Regions from separate parts of the Homo sapiens genome. Here all the other regions are linked to region 1. Evidence: promoter capture Hi-C in human tissues and cell types (Jung and others, 2019). All regions are on one chromosome and are shown on one strand. Each heading gives the region's core, a stretch centred on a gene start or on the middle of the fragment in contact. The rest is flanking DNA. Distances are from core to core; before and after follow the strand shown. Region 1 holds the start of ADCY2 (adenylate cyclase 2). Region 2 has its middle 65 kb from the start of LINC02123. Region 3 overlaps ADCY2 (adenylate cyclase 2). Region 4 has its middle 22 kb from the start of LINC02123.

Region 1 (4,767 bases), core at 1,213-3,712:
TGGGTGAAGACAAACATGTATCAATACAAGGGGTAAAGAAGCAGCAAAGATTGAAGAGAAGATGAATAATTAGTCTGTTGCTAGCACAGGAAAGGACTGGAAATGTGCAACTCTGCCCGCCCCAGAAAGACCAAGCACACAGCCGGAGGAAGACAGAACCAACACAATAGAAACCGTGTCCAGCTTCCCACTCAACCGTGTTTCCTTGGAAGGGATTGGGTTCTGGATATTTATACCGCGGATTCATCAGTGTTGTCTGTCATGGAAGCTTGCTCTCAGAACCTTCAAAAACCTAAAATCTGGGAGTATAGTAATCACATCCTGAGGTTCATAGCAAAGCACCGAGCCCAAAGCATCCAGCCCAGTGAGGTTTGGTGGGAGGGTCTGAGGTTGAAATTACCTGGGTTACAGTCACAGGAGGGTGTTGGAGTGGAGGGCAGGCAGGACAGGGTGGGGGCAGCAGTCCATAAACACTGCAGGGAAGAGAATTTCTTTCTGCTGCTAGGGCAGGATGACCCACGGTGGGAGGTGAGCCTTGGGACCTACAGGAGGCTTCAGGGGGACACCCCCCCACCCATTGCCTCCTCCTCCACTCCTTGTTTCCAGGTCCTCAGAAGGAGGGAAGTCCAGGGACCAGGGAGCCTGGTGGGGCCGGACCTGAGGTACTGCACGCAGCCCTGGGCCCAGTCTCCTCGGCCACCTCCCTGCCTCTGGTGTCTATGAGATCTGCGGGTGAGCTGTGCAGCTCCTGAGCCCTCATCCTTAGGCCCTGTGGGCACTGACGGATGCTAAAATGAAAACCTCTGGAAGGATCCGTGCCCGGCCTGGCCCTGTGCTCAGGGTAACGCAGCTACCTAGCTTACATGCCCTCTGCCAGCGAGGAGGACAGGACAGCCAGGGAGGCGGGGCATGGGGCCATTCGAGAAGGTTCTGAGGTCTTAGGTGGTGACAAGGCTGAGTCCTGAGAGCTGGTCATCTCCTGGAAGAGATGAAAAGTGCATGGAACAGCCCTCTGGGGCTGCCCTCTGGGATGCTCGCTGGTGGCAGGAGAAGGGAGGGCTCTTGTGCCTTGGATTCCTTGGGGTAAGGCTTTGGGGGAGGAGGTGGGATTTGGGGGCTCTTTGGGCCGGACCACACTCGAATAGGAGGAAACTTCCAGAAGGGTGGGTTCCTTTGGTGATAAGCAATGAAGCCCCTTCGGCCCCCAGGGCGAAGGCCAGCGGCCTCCGCTCCCACGCGTGTCGGGAGGGGACACTGTCCCTGGTGACATCCGCCCCCACAACGCTCCTGCCGGGTCTCTAGCGCCTCCTGCGTCCAGGCCCCCAAGGTGACAGGGAGGGAGCTACTCCCAGGGCCGACCCGCCCGCTCCCGCGCCCAGCCGCTCTCCCCGGCGCCCCTTTGCCGCCATCCCCGCTCAGCAGAGGGGCTCGGCGAGGACCACGACCAGCCACGGGGCAGCTCTGTAAACCTGTGATATGACAGGCTTATACGGCACCTCCAAAGTGTGACTGAAGCTGAGCGTGCAGGGCGCAACGGACGCTGCCCCCGCGAGGCCGTGGCGGGGGCTCCCAGTGCAGTCACTGCCGCTTCACTTCCACATGGTGCCGGTCTCCAGTTAGGTCCCCTGGCGTTTCCGCGCCCTGCCGCCCTCGCAGGGAGCCCCGGCCCTCTCAAGAGGGTGGAGAGGATGGGGGAGCCCTCAACCCTGCTACGCTGAGGGGAAGAAGGGCTGGACGGCAAACCGGTGCCCACCGCGGGGAGGCGGGAAGGGTGGGAAATCCTCTCCAGCTCCCCAAAAGAGTGAAAAGGAGGGAGACCCCGCTGTCCTCTGACCCGCGTACTAAAGGAGGGACCCCCCGGGTCCTCTGACCCCGGCTGCGCTCTGTGACTGTGGGGGAGGGTGGGAGCAGGCCCCGCAGCCCACTAAGGGGTGGAGGAAACAGGAGGGTGGCAGCGTCCCTGCCCGCTGACCTTGAGGTAGTGGAGAGGAGCTGAGGAGCCCCGCAGTGCTCCGAGCCAGGTGGGGCGGGGGGAGTGGTGGGGGTAGGACTCCCTCCCTCCACCCCTTAGGCTGTGTTCTCACTTCGTAGCGGGGAGGGCCGTCCCTCCCACCCCACCCACGCTGCACTCGGGATAGGGCAGAGGAGGTGGACGACCTGGTGGCTGAGTGTGGGAGGCCGGCGGGCGAGGACGACCCCGGGCCGGGGCGCAGCGGGAGCCCCTCAGTTCGCCACTCCCCCCACCGTACAGCCCCCGCCGTCCCCAGCCTGCAGCCGGGCCGTCGGGTGGGGGCCGACACCGCCCCTGCACGGAGGCCGGCTGCGCGCGGGGCGGGGAGCGGCGGGCGGAGGGCCCCGTGGAACCCGCCCCCTCCCGCGCGGTGGCGGTGGCGGCGGCGGCGCCGGGAGCTGCCCCCGAGGCCGCCGCCCGGCCCCCGCCCGCGCGTCAGCGCGCCCAGCCCGGGGCGCCGAGCTCCGCCCGCGCCGGAGGCCCCTGCGCGCAGCTCCGGGTGCCGGCAGCCGGGCCGGCCGAGGCGGCGCGGGGGTGGGACGCGGGCGGCCGCGGCGAGCGGCGCTGCCCGGGCCGGGCGCGCACGGCGGGCGCCCTGTGAGCGGCCCCGATGTGGCAGGAGGCGATGCGGCGCCGCCGCTACCTGCGGGACCGCTCCGAGGAGGCGGCGGGCGGCGGAGACGGGCTGCCGCGGTCCCGGGACTGGCTCTACGAGTCCTACTACTGCATGAGCCAGCAGCACCCGCTCATCGTCTTCCTGCTGCTCATCGTCATGGGCTCCTGCCTCGCCCTGCTCGCCGTCTTCTTCGCGCTCGGGCTGGTGAGTGGCCTCCCCGCGGGTCCAGCGCCGCGCCTTCCCCGGCCCTGAGAGGAGCCCGGCCAGCCGAGCCGCGTCCCGCTCCGGGCTGCCCCTCGGCCCGCGGCAGCCCCTCGGCCCGCGGCAGCCCCTCGGCCCGCGGCTCCCTGCTTCTCCTGCTGGCCCGCGGCCCGGTGGACTCTGGCAAGGGCTGCGGGCGGGAGAAAAGTTTCCTGGGAAGGCTCTTCCCAAAATAAAGTTCCCGAGGTGTTCACCAGGTGGACGGGCAGGGCGTGTGCTTTTTGCATCTTTGCGCACCCGCTGGCAAACTCTGCGCTTTCCGCCGGGCACCGCTGCCCGCAGCGCTGGAATAGGTCTTCCCCGACTCAGCCCTGGGCTTCCTGGGCGAGTCGCTGTCTCCTGCCCGGTTCCACTGGCATGGCCCCACAGTTGGCATTTTAGTTGGGATTGGGCGTTATTCAACTCTGCAGAAAGCCTGCCTTGGGAAAGTGGTTAATGACAAGGAAAATGAAGAAGAAAAATTAAGTATACATCTTTGCCTTTAAATCTGTATGCATTTAGCTCTTTAGCCCGATAGACGGAAAGTGATGTGGTGTTGACTTGTGAATCAATCTTTCATCTCAGAGACTACAGTTAAGAAGCGTTTGGGACGGACGATTGCTTTCCCGTTTCTAAAGAAGTAACGTGTTTAGGGTTTTGGACAGGTTATTAAAGTGGATTTCATCACGAGGAGTATAATGCAGCTCAACAGCTGATGTCAGTTTTGCCAGTTTATATTTTTCAAGCAGAAATCCTTGGCTCGCTCCCTTGAAAAGTGAGGGGAAGTCTGTAGATGGCGATAACTTCCTGTTACTGATCTCTGAGTGTGTGGTTCAAACTTTTGCACTGCCTGTGACATGCATGTGCAGATTTTGTGCGAGGCATTGATTATCCACCAGTGAGTTTTTTTTTTTTTTTTTTTTTTTTTTTTAGTCAGTGGTTGATCTGTGAATGTGTCCACTGGGTGATGTATTTTGAGCTTAGAATATAAATATGTGCCTATATTTATATGTGTCCACCACCAAAGAAGTGGATTTTGCTTATATTTCACCATGCATAAAATAGCTGTCCTTGGTATTTGGCAATTTGTTTAGGATGTCCGGAGCCAGATGGTGTTCAAATGTTATGCATGGGAAGAATTGTTACCATCATGTTTTTAAAAAATAAAAAAATTCCCCCACACCACTCAATGGTAGCTGTCTACTGATTGAGTTCAATGAGGTAAGAATAGAAATAGAATGTAGGAGGCCATGAAGTCACAGATCACACACTGGCTCTTGTACTATCAAACCTAGAGCAGAGAGTAACTTTTGATCCCTGTAGTCTAGATAGGAGTCCGGAGAAACCCTCACTCTCTCCACATGTAACCAGCCTTCTATGCTCTCTGGAATGGCATTTTTATCTCTCTTTACTACTTTTAGGAACAAAAAGGACTTGGGGAGAGACTTCTGCTCAGTCTCATGGGCAAGCAGGATCTCTAAAGTCATCTACTTATTATTTTTTACTTGCCAGGAAGAAAAGAAACATCAGAGTTTTCCTTTGGAAATCTGTTCTGCTGGGGCATTTCAGCTTGTGATTCTCTTGAACCTGTAATTCAAACCTGCTCTGGCTTGTTCTCTTCTAAATGGAAAGGAGCAGGTGATGACCTATTTATAGCAGCATTAATATATTTAAAGACAAGTGTGAAATTCATGCTTCCTCTGCACACACCACTTTGTTTTCTGTGATGGAGAATTCTAATTTCTTAAACCTCATTGATAGAGATTCTTGAATGGGTCACTCAGAGATTTAGCATTATTGGGCTTAAAGCACCCTTCTTTGAATTGTCTTTGTTCTTTGTATTTGTGTGTCTATATTCAATTCCTTTATGTTCCATTTTGCTTGGTGCATATGTGTTAGT
Region 2 (4,767 bases), core at 880-3,379, 110 kb before region 1:
CTGTAGACGCTTCATAAAGTCGGAATTGACTCCACTAATATAAGTTTCATTTTCCGTTTTTCCTCTGACCTGGAGAAGTGATTTCTGTGTGCTTCCATATTGGGGAAAACAGAGGGGCTGAAGTTCCACTGTCACGTGCTAATATTCCCAGGGCCAAATGACAGGCAGGCATTTCAGGATGGTCACTAGCAGCTGATAGCAAAAAAAAAAAAAAAAAAAAAAAAAAAAGCTGTTTTTCACATGCAATTAATTGAGGTGTTTTTCACTGGTCAAAAGACCTCTCTTCTTGATATTGATTTTTTTTTTTTTATTTCCAAAAAGGAACCAAGAGGAAAATTGGGTTTGCAGTTCCATTTCTCAATACTTTGAGCCAAACTATTCAGGGAGGAAAGCTTGCTTTTGTTTATGGACAATTTTATTGACTTGTTCTAATAAAAGGAATGTATAACCAGAGAATTATAGGTTGAGAGAGGTGGAGAGCATGTAAAGGGCCACCCCTGCCCTTCTATTGCTCCAGGACATATCCATGTCAACATCAGATAAATGGGAATTTGTCCTATTTTTCAACACAAATGGAAAGAAGAGATTCCACTATTTTCCGGTTTAATGTAACATGTAGTCAGTCTCAAAATAAAGGTGGGGGTTTTTACCCCCATCTTTATATTTATATATAAATTATTCATATTGTGTGTGTGTATATATATATATATATATATAGTGTGTATATATGTCATAAAAATTTGTGCATATAAAATGTATATATAGCATATAAAACTGAGATGGAGATATATAAGGTACTTATTGTACATTACTCTCTCTTCAGTCCTTTTTCTTAAGGCTAAACCATTATTTCCTCCTCTGGGAATCTGTTTTGTTTTGTTTTCCAAATCCACGAATAATTTTTGGATCTTTCCATCAAAACTTTTCAAGTTCTTCTTGCCACCTATAAGCCGAGGAATCCTGATTTTCTTCCATCTCTCAAAATCTAACTATAGAGATATGATCATGTTACCTGATGCTAGCGAGGCAAGCCTAACACCGTTGCTGGGATGAGCTTCGTGTTATCAGGAGGAGAGCCTGCCATCACACCATGGCATCTCAATTTTCATTTACAAATGCTCTATTTGTAGCTAGCCTGATTCTTAGCTCTCTTACCTGCTATTCCACATCATTTTATTTTCATTTCTTTTGTAGTATCTAATGTATTCTACTAAAAAAAAAAAGTAGAGTAGTTGGAAAACTCTTGTGAAAAAAACATATGTATTACATATATACCATTCTTCATGATTCTCAACATTTTCATCATTATTAATGTTTTGTATATATATATATTGTGTGTGTGTATGCGTGTTAGATATATAATTTAAAAGAAAACAATAAGTTGGTGGCTTATGGCAAATTGTTCCTTAAGTCCTGCATTTGAAACATAGACACTGAGTGAATCAGCACATTTGATCATCTTTTAACTACAATAGATAATTATACATTAAAAATACATTAACCATCCAAATACATCTTTTTTCTTATTTATTTATTTATGTATTTATTTATTTATTTTTATTTATTTTTTTGAGATGGAGTCTTGCTCTGTCGCCCAGGCTGGAGTGCAGTGGCGCGATCTCAGCCCACTGCAAGCTCCGCCTCCCAGGTTCCCGCCATTCTCCTGCCTCAGCCTCCCGAATAGCTGGGACTACAAGCGCCCGCCACCACGCCTAGCTAATTTTTTTGTACTTTTAGTAGAGACGGGTTTTCACCATGTTAGCCAGGATGGTCTCGATCTCCTGACCTCGTGATCCGCCTGCCTTGGCCTTCCAAAGTGCTGGGATTACAGGCCTGAGCCTCGGCGCCTGGCCCAAATGCATCTTTAGGAAAATTATATTTAAGCTCTTCATGGAGACATTAAAAAACCAAGCTGCATTAATGATAAATAATTATATCATTCATTAGTAAGGAGTAAATAGCTGTTTTCTATTTGAGAAGTATTAATTGGATTGTCCATCTGTATGCAGGAACATCTGTTTTCTGACATGCTTTAATCACCATTTGTTTTGTACTTGTACCATAATTACACTTGTTTGTAATATTGAACTCGAGACAATGATTAAATCAACTTATGAATACGATTCTTTTATGCTTTTATATTTCATTAGAAAATGTGTAATTCTGGTATGACATTTATAAGTATATATAAAAGAAAGTATTTGATTCACAAAATGCCCCAACAGATTATGTCAGTAAAATGAGTGTTATATTATGCAGTCTATGTTATTATTTTAGCATTTTTAAGGAAAGTTTATTGCTTCACGGAAGCTTTTTTTTAACTGACCATCTATGAATTTTCTGTATTCTTTATTTCAGTGTGATCACATGGTCATAGAAGAGACATTTTTAGATCATCAGAAGTTGACAGTTTTCACTGTAGTGTATGTGCTTAGTATAAGATGGAATTAAGTTTGTTGTATGGGTGATTGATGAATTTTTACTGAATCATGGATAACTGCTGTTCTATTAATGACATTTCATCAATCAACTGTTTGGATATGGTTTATCACAAAATGTTGCTGACTTCATGTTTGTGGATTAACTGAGGTGAAAGTGATACCTGGTAGAAGTTTCATTAATACAAATTTTCCTCTCTTAGGAGTAGGATGGATTATATTATTTGTTGAAATGCCTTTGCATGTAAGTTCTTAACTGTCAGTTTTCTTGTCCTGTGAATCATATCTTTTCTGTATTTGCTGAAATAGAGACTTAACATTGTTAAATGATTTGTCCATGTCATGGAAAATGTATGCCTCTAAATCTGCGTTCCTTCCTACAAATTACAAGTTCAAAATGACTTTTTTTAAGAAACCAAAAAAAGATGGATTTCTGGTATTTTGTGGCAGGATAAGCTCCCTGTAGCCTATCTTACATGTTGATTACAACTAAAACTATGAAAAGTACAATAAGCAACTAACTGAGGAATCTGAAAAGTAAATAAAAGTAGAATTATGAGTGATAGGCAAAATCTGGAGAAGCACCCTGCAGTAGTGTGAGCTTCCATTGTTGTATTTCTTTCAATCAAAACCAAAACAAACAAACAAAACAAACAAAAACCAGAAAAGAACACCACCAACAAGAAAACACTCAAGGAAAATAGATATTGTGATAGAAACAGCAGAAATGTTGAGAAACAAAACCAGAAGGTTAGAATTATTAGAGAAAATAATATAAAAAGAGTAATTTTAAAGTATCTAAACAAAATTTTAAAAAGGAATTTAAAAAAATAAGCAAGGAGAAGACAATAAAAATAGGTTGATAATTCATTTGTTAGCATTTGTCTGTTTGGTATTTGTTGACCATTTTATTTAAAAAAAATTTGGCTCTATTTGATTTTGGTGTATTTCTTGTATATGTATTGTAAAATTTAGTATTTATTATTATTAAATATTTTATATTGTTAAATGATGATTTATTTTTATTGATAAGAAAGATGTAGTTTTCTGGTTGTTATTTTTGTAATTTTACCTGCATTTATATTTTTCTCCATTTATTTAGATAATACCTAATGGTTCCCCACAATGAGTGGCAATTAAATTAGACTCTATGCTATTTTCACTTTCTCAACTTCTCCTGAACTATTTGATTTTTGTGGCAGGATATTTCTTAATATTTGCCTTTTTGCCACTTAATGTTTTCATACTATTATGGGCAAATTTTGAGATTTAAAATGAACCCACTACTCTCAGCTATTATAGATGAGGCAATCAGGGAGCTAATTCCTACTTTCCCCTTTCTTTTACTCTTTCCTCCTAGTTGTTACAGTTGAATCATTTGTACATTATCAGAATCATCAGTAAAATATCTTTTTACATTTTCTACACCATGTATCCCTTAAATCTATATATGACGCATTGAATGCTTACCTCTTGCCTTACTGGTAGTATTTTACCTACTCAAAACACAGAACTTTGTTCTGTGGTAAATCTCTTAATAAGTGTTAATAAGGGAATATGTAAACAGTGTTCCCTGCAATTATGGGTGCTTATAACTGTACACTTTATAGCTGATAGATATCTTGCAAGGATAAGGATAACCATTTGCTTCTCCCTTCTCTTCTTTCTCAATATTTCCCCCCATTTTCTGGTGTTAACTTTTGCTGTGGAAAACTCTGATGCCAAAATGATTTTCTTTTTCTCTAAGTTCACTATTTTTGCTTAAGCCCCCAAATAATGCTTTCTTAATCTTTAAAGTCCTAGTCCCATACACAGATATATCTTGGCATTGAACATTCTAATAACATATATAAGCATATACTACACAGTAATGTAAATAAATGGGCTTATGATGATCTATCTTGGCTTAATATAGGCAATAACTTTTTTCTAATTCTATGTTTTACAGTTTTTGGATTTTTGGACGGGGAGAGGACTTACTACATATTCTTCTCTCACTTACACCCTTTACAACCCTTACATTATTTGGGGTTCAGTCTCCCTTGTTCTCTTTACAATTTAGTTTTTTTTTCTCTACAATGATTTTGTTTTTAAATCCTATTTCTTTCATGGATTCTGCCAGTTTCTATTGCACTTTCTGGCTATCTCTTCCCCATGCTCTTGCATTTCACTTCATGGTCTCTTTATGTTTTATTACACCCTTAAAATTTATGTTGGAATGTTAAGTGTTCATTCCTTTTTTCATCTGTTTTGTAGCAACATGTTTCTAGTGATTACAAGAGTTGATATATTCCTTTTTTATCTTTATTCTTAGAGTATTTTTATGTGA
Region 3 (4,767 bases), core at 1,699-4,198, 100 kb after region 1:
AATTCTAAACTTCTTGCTGAAGCTCATGAATCTGCAGGTGCTTTGGCTTCCCCTTCTCTCTCTGCTCTCAACTCTACGCTTTCCCTCCCTCTGCACATGCTGCACTCTACTTTGAAGTCTTTGCATGGGACATTGTGCTTCTTGTAGTATTTTCCCTGTTATTCAAAACTGAGCTGGGTACTTCTTACATGTGCTCAAATTTCACCATCCTTAACCCATCCTAGTGAGCAAGGTCTGGATCCTGTTTCCAAGGGCTCCTCCAGGCCTGGCAGATGGTGGGGGCTCAAGGCTAGTGGGAGTGAACTCTTTAATTAGTGTTAGTGGTTACGGAGGCAGAGACTCTCAGCTCCATTTTAATGCCACAGTAAGGACTTGGTAATGCTGTTGTAGGTTTCCAGCAAAGTGTGAATTGCCTGGAGACCTACCAAGGTGTCAAGTAACAGAATTCAACAAGGTGTTAAGAACAAGAAAAAGAAACAGACTTCATTTTGATTAGTTGAACTTGTAGGTTTGACTAAACTTTAGACAGTGGAAAGGGTGTTGTAACTGTTGGCTCCATCCTTCCAAACCAAGCTTCTCTGAGAGAACACCGGACCAGCTGCCATGTTGTGGATGTGCCAGTGGCTGCACCCAAGGCTTGGCCACACCCTGTCTGGGGAATTGTCCAGCTTTTCCTCATCTCTGCTGTCACTTTGCTTTTACCATTTCTTGCTCAAATTTTCCATGTCTCAAAGATAAAACAAAACTCAGGCAAACCCATATTTAATATCCTGGTGACTATCTTTAGTGCAGTCTAGTCTATAAGCCATGTTTAGGTGCCTGCACATGTATGTTAGCCCTAATCACCCCCGTGCCTCACCTCCATGTTCTGCATCTGACTTCACTCCTGAATATGCTCTAAATAAAAGGAGTTAAATTGGCTTCGTGGGAACTTGTGCCCTTGTTCCTTGTGTGCCAGGAAACGCCTGTATCTCTGTGTCAGGAATTTCGAGCTTCATTGCATCATCAAGCTCTTTTGTTTGGAAGACTCTAGTCTGCTACCATGAACTCTTAAGATAGGATAAATTAATTAGCTTTGGAAATTAATGCTATAAGCATAAAACGGGATATTATTGCAGAAGAATAGCAGACCTTAATATCAGAAATTTTGTTTTGTTCCCAGAAAATGAATCTAAATCTATTTGCAAAGGAGGATAGTTATTTTTGCACAAAATGACCTAAAATGAGTGTATTTATGAATTGCTTTTAATCTTGAGGAGACTAAGTTATTTCATCTGTTGGTAATAAAAGTTGCTTCTTAAATAGTGTTTTATTTCCAATGCAGTTGGTCTCATTACAAGTAAACCTGGAACAATCATACTGTACCTTTTTTTCCCTCTGGAACGTTATGCGAGTATGCTAAATCTGAACATTTTGACATCCTTATCTAAAAATAGTCTGTGAAATACTTTTCATTTCTTAAATTTAGAAATAGATTTGGAGGCACTTTCAATGAATTATTTAGCCAGTCAGTGGAAAGTTTTCATTTTAGAAAAAGGAGTAATCACGTAGAAGATGACTGAATTTATAAAAATAATTTTCTTTCACGCCTACCAATACATGTGTGTTCTTTCTCTGCAAAGTAACCCATTGTAAGTGCAGTTCTCCTAGGCAAGCACTGAAGGGTGGTTGTTGCTGCTGCATAGTCCAAGATTAAAGTGTGAATGGCCTGTTTAAAATGTAAGAACCAAAGATTGGAACTATCAGGGGTTGTCTAAGACTTATGATTTTTCATTAAATATTTGATTTTGAAGGCAAACAACACACCATGCAAAAGGGCATGCTGAATAATAGTTCTGATAAATCCACTCTAATTTATAGGGGAGAAACTCTTAGCAAGATAAAAAATCAAAAGGAAATTTCCTATACACTTTATAAAATGTTTATAAAAGCAACAACATTTTAATAAAAATCGCTAACTCCAAATTCTTAGGAATGTAACATTGGAGGAATTATCATTAAGACGAAGACTAAAGAGGGTGTGTGCTCTTAATTCTGTTGGGTAACACTGTACTTAACCAAGCTGGTTGAACAAGGAGAAAAATGAAAGTATACAGAAAGGATAAGAAAAAATGATCACTAATTGTGGCTATTACACATTGACCTTGATATATAATAGCTGAATGAATTCGGCCATGTTATTTAACCTCTCTAAGCTTTAATATTTAATTTTTCAATTGAGAATATTAATACCATATACTTCACAATTTTGTTGTTAAAATAAATTGGATAATGCATATAAGATTATTATTTTACAATAGTTGACAGAGAGTATGCCCTCTGTAAATTTTAGTCATTTTTAGTATTAGCTCCTGATAAACGAGAGACTCAATTGAAAACCACTAGCATTAATGGAGGGATTAATTACGTTAGGAGTGAAGCTTAACTACTTTCCAATATATAAGGAACAAAAAGTTAGCAAATATAATGGGGCAATAACTTTATTTACATGAATAATATATCTAGGAATATTTTATATGAATATATCAGCAATAATATATCTAGGAATAAACATAAGCAATGGTCAGAATTTCCTTGGCATTAATCGTTTTAGGTCAGTTTTCTCAGGTACTTAATTGACCCTTAAATATATAGACTCAGGTCCTTATTAATTTCCCAACTACACTTGAATTGTTCAGAATTTCTTGAAGAAAACTATCAAACTTTAAGGAATGCCATAAGAGAAGCTATCAATGCATCCAAAGATAAAGCACATTCCCACTTATGAAGATGCAATGTTCTTTAAAAAGTATCAAATTTCCCATCTTTAATCTCTCAAATGAAGGCAGTCTCAACCAAAATACACATGCAAGTATGGGAAGATTAATCACATGTCACTAACAGTATGGAAGATACACAAACAAGAATAACCAGGGCAGTTATATAAAGCAGATCTGTAGAGAATTACTTGAATTTTTGTGATATTAAAATGTATATGGTTTATAATTAAAAGAATAAAAATGGATAGCTGGAACAGAAATAGTTTCAAGTATAAATGTGTCATTTCGAATCAGTGGGAAATTAATTTGAGCCTTCAAAAAAAGTGTTAGCTAACCATTTGGGAATAAAAACAGGAAATTACAGTTTCCAGTTTCAGTATTCTAGTGTCAGTAATATCTAGTTGAGGCGGCCTCATAATCTAAATTTTTTCACACATCCCTCCAAAAAAATTGCATCAATAAGGAGAGCAAATGAAAGCATCCAAAAGTCATTCATAATTCATCCATAATGAGGAGAGAGAAATTAGCAAGCACCTATGTAATTTTTATGTTGAGAAATAAACTTTCACGTACAAGCTACCAGCAGAGCCGGATATGGAAACCATGCCCAGGTGGAATTAGGAAGAAATTGCACCGAAAAAAAAAAGTTGCCTGAACTAAACAATGTTCTTAGTGAAATAATGTATTTAATTTGGCACAAGTTTCTTATATTTATTTAACCAGTTACCAGTCGGTAGACAACACTTTCAGTAGCACCAGACTGAAGGACCAGAATTATCTAAGAAGAAATGACTGAAAAACATAGACAAAAGGACTTAGGGTGTCCATTGAATAAGTGAATATACTGAGTTCTGCAGTGTATTCATTGAAACTGGAAGCATGGGTGAACATTTACAGTGTTTTCTAGGACACCTTCATTTTGTAAAACAAAAACAACAATAATAGTAAAAACAATATTATCTCTTTTCAAACTTTATGGATACTCTGTAGATCCGAGAGTAAAATGAAAGTAGAGACAAGTGTGGGAGAACAGTATATGTAAATGTTATAATTTCTGAAAATATAGAGATAATCAAACTTATAAATGGGAGTAGTATTGACAAGGATATAGAGTAAGTAAAACTCTTTTTCTTTTTTCGTTTTTTTTTTTTTTTTTTTTTTTTTTTAAGACAGAGTCTCGCTCTATCGCCCAGGCTGGGGTGCAGTGGCACAATCTTGGCTCACTGCAAACTCCACCTCCCAGGTTCACGCCATTCTCCTGCCTCAGCCTCCCAAGTAGCTGGGACTACAGGCGCCCCCCACCGCACCTGGCTAATTTTTTGTATTTTTAGTAGAGACGGGGTTTCACCGTGTTAACCAGGATGGTCTCGATCTCCTGACCTCGTGATCCGCCTGCTTCAGCCTCCCAAAGTGCTGGGATTACAGGCGTGAGCCACCGTGCCCGGCCAAGTAAAACTCTTATACAATGCTTTTGATAATGTAAATTGGTTCAACTACTTGAAAAACTGTAAATTAGTATCTACTATAGTTCAACATGTGCACAGCCTACTGCACAGCAATTTCATTCCTCAGTTTATATTCAACATAAATGTTAAAATATATTCATCAAAGATATGTACAAGAATGTTCACAGCAGCACTGTGGTAGTAGTTTAAATTAGAAAACTACCTACATGTCCACTAGCAGAAGAACAATGAAATAAAGTGTGCTATATTTACACAATGGGATGCTAGACAGTGATGACAATGAAGCAACCATAATGATTACATTCAGAGACATGGCCAAATGTCACAAGTATAATGTTGGCCAGAAAAAGCCAAGCATAAAAGGATATATGTTGTATGAGTCCATTCATATAAATCTTAAAAATAGCCAAAATTATCCATGGGGTTTGAAATCAGAGAGTGTTTTGTTGTTGTTGTTGTTGAGATGGAGTCCCGCTTTGTCTCCAGGCTGGAGTGCAGTGGTGCCATCTCAGCTCACTGTAACCTCTGCCTCCCGGGTTCAA
Region 4 (4,767 bases), core at 1,536-4,035, 70 kb before region 1:
CTTTCAGAGAGCTACACAACTAGTATATGGAGAATAGAGTTTCTTAGCAAAATCAGTGCATCAAGTAGAATCATCAAATTAAACAGAATCTTTGCAATCTATGGAAGAAACTGAAAGAAAAACAATTTAAAACAATATTGATATTTGAGGTGTGCTTATCAAGCAATACTACTGAATTTCCCTTTGGCTGAAGCAATGGTGACATCATAGTGTCTGTAACATCCCAAATAAGGACTCTGGAGAGAACTGTGGGATTAACTGCAAAGAAAGTGGCAGCGTAGTGCCGTCGTTAAAGCCTTGAATTGACAAATCAAAGATCTGGGTTCAAATCCTGGCCCTGATATCTCTAGTTGGTAAAACTGAGCACAGTACTTAACTCTTGAAAGCCTAATTGGTTAAAAACAGGAATTAAATGAGATAGAGCAAACATGGTTAATTAGCACTCAAATGTTGAAAGAGATTGATATCTTCTGTGCTAAAATTATTTTTATAAATTAAAAATCTGATATATGATGGCATTGTTCTTACATACAATATCCTCCTCCACTGAAACAAACACTACTCTACACACAGCCCTCTGCAGTTGGTGGGTCCTCGGTTCCGTTGCTGTGCATGGACTGACATCAACTGTAAGGTGGGTGCAGGCTTTGGCCCACTCATGGAAGGTCACTGAAAGACACAGGGCTTGTTTGCTGAACCTAAAACTGGTAACATCATGGATAGCCCTAGAAGCCCACATAAAAATACACTTCACTTTCATAATGTAACTTTTACAAGATGACATTTTCTGAATTCATAAACTTGTACAGCCAATTCCTTAGCTACTGGATTTCTGAGGGATGAGATTTAACATTCTAGTCCAGATCATTTACTTCAGTTTTGCTGGGCCCACCCCACTTTTATTTTTTACTTCAGTAGTTTTATGCTTCCTGCTTATAGATTCAGTGGTAACATCAGTGGGCTTGGATTATTTTGCTAAACCATGGTAGCACATTTTCTTCAATACAAAGTGTCTTGAAAAGCTAAAATAAAACCTCAACCACCTTCATATCAGTGCTGTGGATTTTTCTCCAGAAATAGAGTGGATTTAGCAAAGAAAGAAGAGTTCACAGACTTAAATACTGCCCTGAGAGATTTTACCTGGGCTATTGGCTTTCTTTTCTTTAGAGGCATATTTCTTTCACTTAAAAAACTTGCAGATAAACCAATATTCTTGTACATAATTATTTTGCATATCATAAAGCAAATCCGTGTTTCAGATATGCTGATCAATGAACGAAATATTAAGGTTGTTAGGCTTACCATTATTTTCCTCCTTAAAGCCCTATCAAAATACTAGAAAAAATAATAATAGAGCCTACAGAAATAGTGTGATCTGTTCGTCATAGATTACATCATCAACAATGTTTAGTGGGAAATAACCTCTCACCACAGACAACAAATACTTCTCGATATAAAAAGAAGATTTAAAATAATTGGGCTAGGTTGAAATTTTTTACTTAAAAATGTATTAGAAAAAAATTATCATTCATTCATTAATTAGGTATAAAATATTGTGAGCATTTAGTCAACATCTAATAAGCATTTATTGAGTAAATTAGTTACTCTCCCGTGTCAATATTGGTTGTAATGAAAATCCCAGGCATTGAATTTTCAGGGACAGATTTAATTTCTTTTTTTTTCTTTTTTCTTTCATTATTATTTTATGGGGGCAATGGAGCCTCACTCTGTCTCCTAGGCTGGAGTGTAATGGCACAATCTCGGCTTACTGCAACCTCCGCCTCCTGGACTCAAGTGATTCTCCTGCCTCAACCTCCCAAGTAGCTTAGGTTACAGGTGCCAGCCACCATGCCCAGCTAAATTTTGTCTTTTTAGTAAACAGGAGGTTTCACCATGTTGGCCAGGCTGGTCTTGAACTCCTGGCCTCAAGCGATTTGCCCACTTTGGCCTCCCAAAGTGCTGGGATTACAGGCTTGAGCCACTGCACCCAGCCAGATTTAATTTCAATACTCTTTTTATCACACTTATTACAAATAATCCAACTACTAAAATATAATAAGAGTTAACACATATTGGCACAAGAATAGATTATTTATCTTCACATAAAAGAACCTGATTTTATTTGGCTCTGGGATGGGAGGAACTGAACTGCATGTGGAGTGCAAATATGAGGTGATTGGGTACCCAAGCACGAGTCATCAGATCGTCCCCACTATTGAGCAGGAGTTGGCTGAGAGATTGGCCCAGAACATGCCTCCAAAGTTTTCTAAACTTTTTAATTTTTTAGCCTCTGTGGAATCCTTGCCAACTCTATGATTCACTTTAAAATTTTTTTTGTAGAATTTCTGGATCAATTTGGAAACTAAGACTAGAAAAGATCTGTGTTTCGTCATCTGGAACCCAGGGAGAGGGTGAGGCACGTGGAGTTCCTTGACCCCTCATCTTGCTGAAGCAGCAAGCATGGGTGAGTGCAGAGAAGCCTCACGCACTCTTGGGCTACCAAGAGCTGTGCCAACACTGTTGTGTAAGTTGGCCAGAGAGGAACCCTGTATACTGGACACTAAGTTTTTTACTTCTTCAGAATAAGAAAATTAACGCAAAACCTTCCAGCACCAAATTCAAAATTTTACACATTCTATCACTTACATATAGCTCACATAAGCATTTTATTTTTTTAGCTATTTAGAGCCTGTCTGCTTTGCACATCCCATGAGAGTGCAGTCAACATCTGCTAGCCATAGATAAGACAAACTCTGTGGTTATAAAAGACCCAAACTTCTGCTGTTCTAAGAGCTCCATGACCCGGAGACGCCCCACCTCACTGCTGAGCAACATCTTCCCTGCCCAAGTGCCACTCAATAAAGCTTGTTGTACAATACTGTCATCTCCTAGTCCTGTCTTTTCTTCAATCAGCTCCAAAATTCTTGAAACTTCCGGTGACCAATAAATATGAGGGAATTGGTACAGGACCTGGATATTTAAAATTTGCAAACTTTGCAATTTATCTGCAGGCAAAAAGAATTAAATGAAATAATAATTTCCATAATACTGCTTCAGCTGGTTTGAATCACCACCATTAATGAGTCTCACATGTGAAAAAGTAGCCCGTACCATAAGTACTCTGACAGTATAAAAGTTAGAAAGTACAGTTTATCAAGACAGCATTCATGATCTTGACTTTGGGCAGCCCCTTGTAGCAGGAAGAACCAAACTGGTGATGGGTTTATTTGTGAAGAACACCCTACCAACAGCTCCGTATACAAATGCTGGCCAAAGTATCCCAGCATCTTTAAACCAGCCTCTTGTGATCCTCAAAGATTCCAAGGTCGCATCATTGACAGGAGCATTTCTTCAGAGCAGGGCCTCCTGGATCTGCAGAGGACCTTCTGAAGAAAGGTTGGAGTGCTCTTCCCCAACGGTGTGCTTCCTGTGCACATGGATCCTGGACTTTTGTGGCTGCTGGCTCTCAGGATCTGCTCACCTCCAGCAAGTGTTTTCCCCAGGCCTCGAGTACCCACACTATTCCAAGAAATCAAGCCATTCACAGAGAAGCTTGGAGACTTCTGCCCTTGTTCAATTCTGATAGTAACCACTTATAATAACCATTGAGGTTTGACTCAGAGATGTACAGAAAATGTGCCCTGGGACCGTCTCGCAAGGTCTTTTTTTCATTTTTTGCCTTCTTTGCACAAAGAAACGTGTGTACATTCAGACTCGCATAGCTTTGGTGATTTGGAATTCATTTTTGGCCAACGCTTCACTTTTACATTGATTAGGGTGTGATTGCAGATGCTTTAGTAGGTTTAAGTAAAAAGATACTTAATACAAAGAAGTATACATATACAAAATCATCAAAGGCTGGAGAAACAGGCTCTAGGGGTGCTCTCAGAAGCACCCCTAGTGCTTCTGAGACCCCTAGTGCTTCTCAGTCACCAGACTCTTCTCTTCTGGAGTAAACCAAGGAATTGTTAAGATTGCTTCTAATAGCAGAACTGCGTTTGCCAAAATCAAGGAAATTCTCCCTACTGCTTCTGAAGCGTCTGGAGGCATCCAGAAGCTACCTTGTGAAGTCAGAAGCCACAGAATTTCAGGCTACAGATCCTTGACACTTCTATCACCAGCTATACCAACAAATGGGAACCAATCTTTCGCCATACAACTCAGCTCCAATTCAAAGTCTCCTGTGAGAGCATCCTGTTGGTGGGACTGAGTCTTATTGGAAATGTAGTGACAAAAAAGTCAAGGAAATAAAAAATAAATTCATTTTTACAAACCTCTCTACCTCATTGATTCTTCAGCTACATCTTCATAGCTTAAAGCACCATAGTTTGCTACATGTGAATTTTACTTGCACATTGCTGATAAAAGCGAAAGCTATAGCTGCAACTTATTTCTCTTTTAATTTTCTAGAATGGAAAATGTATTCTGTTCCTTCTCTCCTTAAATGTTTTCTTCAATTGCCTTTCAAAAAATGTTTTTAAATAAATATTTTTATGAGGCTAATTATTGTGACTCTCGGTCTTCTACAAGTGGAGCATCTCTAATCCAAAAATTCAAAATAAAAAATGTTCCAAAATTCAAAATTTTTTGAGGGCCACCATGGTGCCACAAGTGGACAATTCCACACGTGACATCATGCAATGGGTTGCAGTCAAAACACAGGTGTACAACAGTTTATTCAGTATCCCTACGGGAAAAAAGACTTTCCCAGCCCCCTTCAGCTGTGATATATCTTTTCCACACACATCCAGATTTCCCTACTTAAAA

Evidence for each region. Contacts are between HindIII fragments. The study calls those that stand out against the background at their distance.
Region 2: a fragment that was not itself captured here is called in contact with the fragment with the promoter of ADCY2 in region 1 in 3 of the 25 tissues and cell types used here (liver, mesendoderm cells and thymus).
Region 3: a contact is called between a fragment that was not itself captured here and the fragment with the promoter of ADCY2 in region 1, in 2 of the 25 tissues and cell types used here (dorsolateral prefrontal cortex and small bowel).
Region 4: a contact is called between a fragment that was not itself captured here and the fragment with the promoter of ADCY2 in region 1, in 6 of the 25 tissues and cell types used here (H1 embryonic stem cells, heart left ventricle, mesendoderm cells and 3 more).

Annotation. Positions count from the first base shown.
Region 1 is chr5:7,393,676-7,398,442 of GRCh38, forward strand. It overlaps ADCY2 (adenylate cyclase 2), which reads left to right and starts at 2,463. Exons shown (of 25, transcript NM_020546.3): 1 at 2,463-2,831. The coding sequence starts at 2,622. It overlaps LOC107986403 (a long non-coding RNA gene), which reads right to left and starts at 2,274. Exons shown (of 2, transcript XR_001742597.2): 1 at 401-2,274; 2 at 1-299. RefSeq lists enhancers at 1,013-1,778, 1,779-2,544. The HindIII fragment of the contact is 8,449 bases long and covers 1-4,767 here.
Region 2 is chr5:7,280,627-7,285,393 of GRCh38, forward strand. No RefSeq gene overlaps it. Among named protein-coding and RNA genes, the nearest start is that of LINC02123, 65 kb to the right of the region's middle. The HindIII fragment of the contact is 4,387 bases long and covers 1-4,323 here.
Region 3 is chr5:7,494,342-7,499,108 of GRCh38, forward strand. All of the region lies in intron 2 of ADCY2 (adenylate cyclase 2), which reads left to right. Among named protein-coding and RNA genes, the nearest start is that of ADCY2, 100 kb to the left of the region's middle. The HindIII fragment of the contact is 3,128 bases long and covers 1,385-4,512 here.
Region 4 is chr5:7,323,726-7,328,492 of GRCh38, forward strand. No RefSeq gene overlaps it. Among named protein-coding and RNA genes, the nearest start is that of LINC02123, 22 kb to the right of the region's middle. RefSeq lists an enhancer at 2,611-2,905. The HindIII fragment of the contact is 3,657 bases long and covers 958-4,614 here.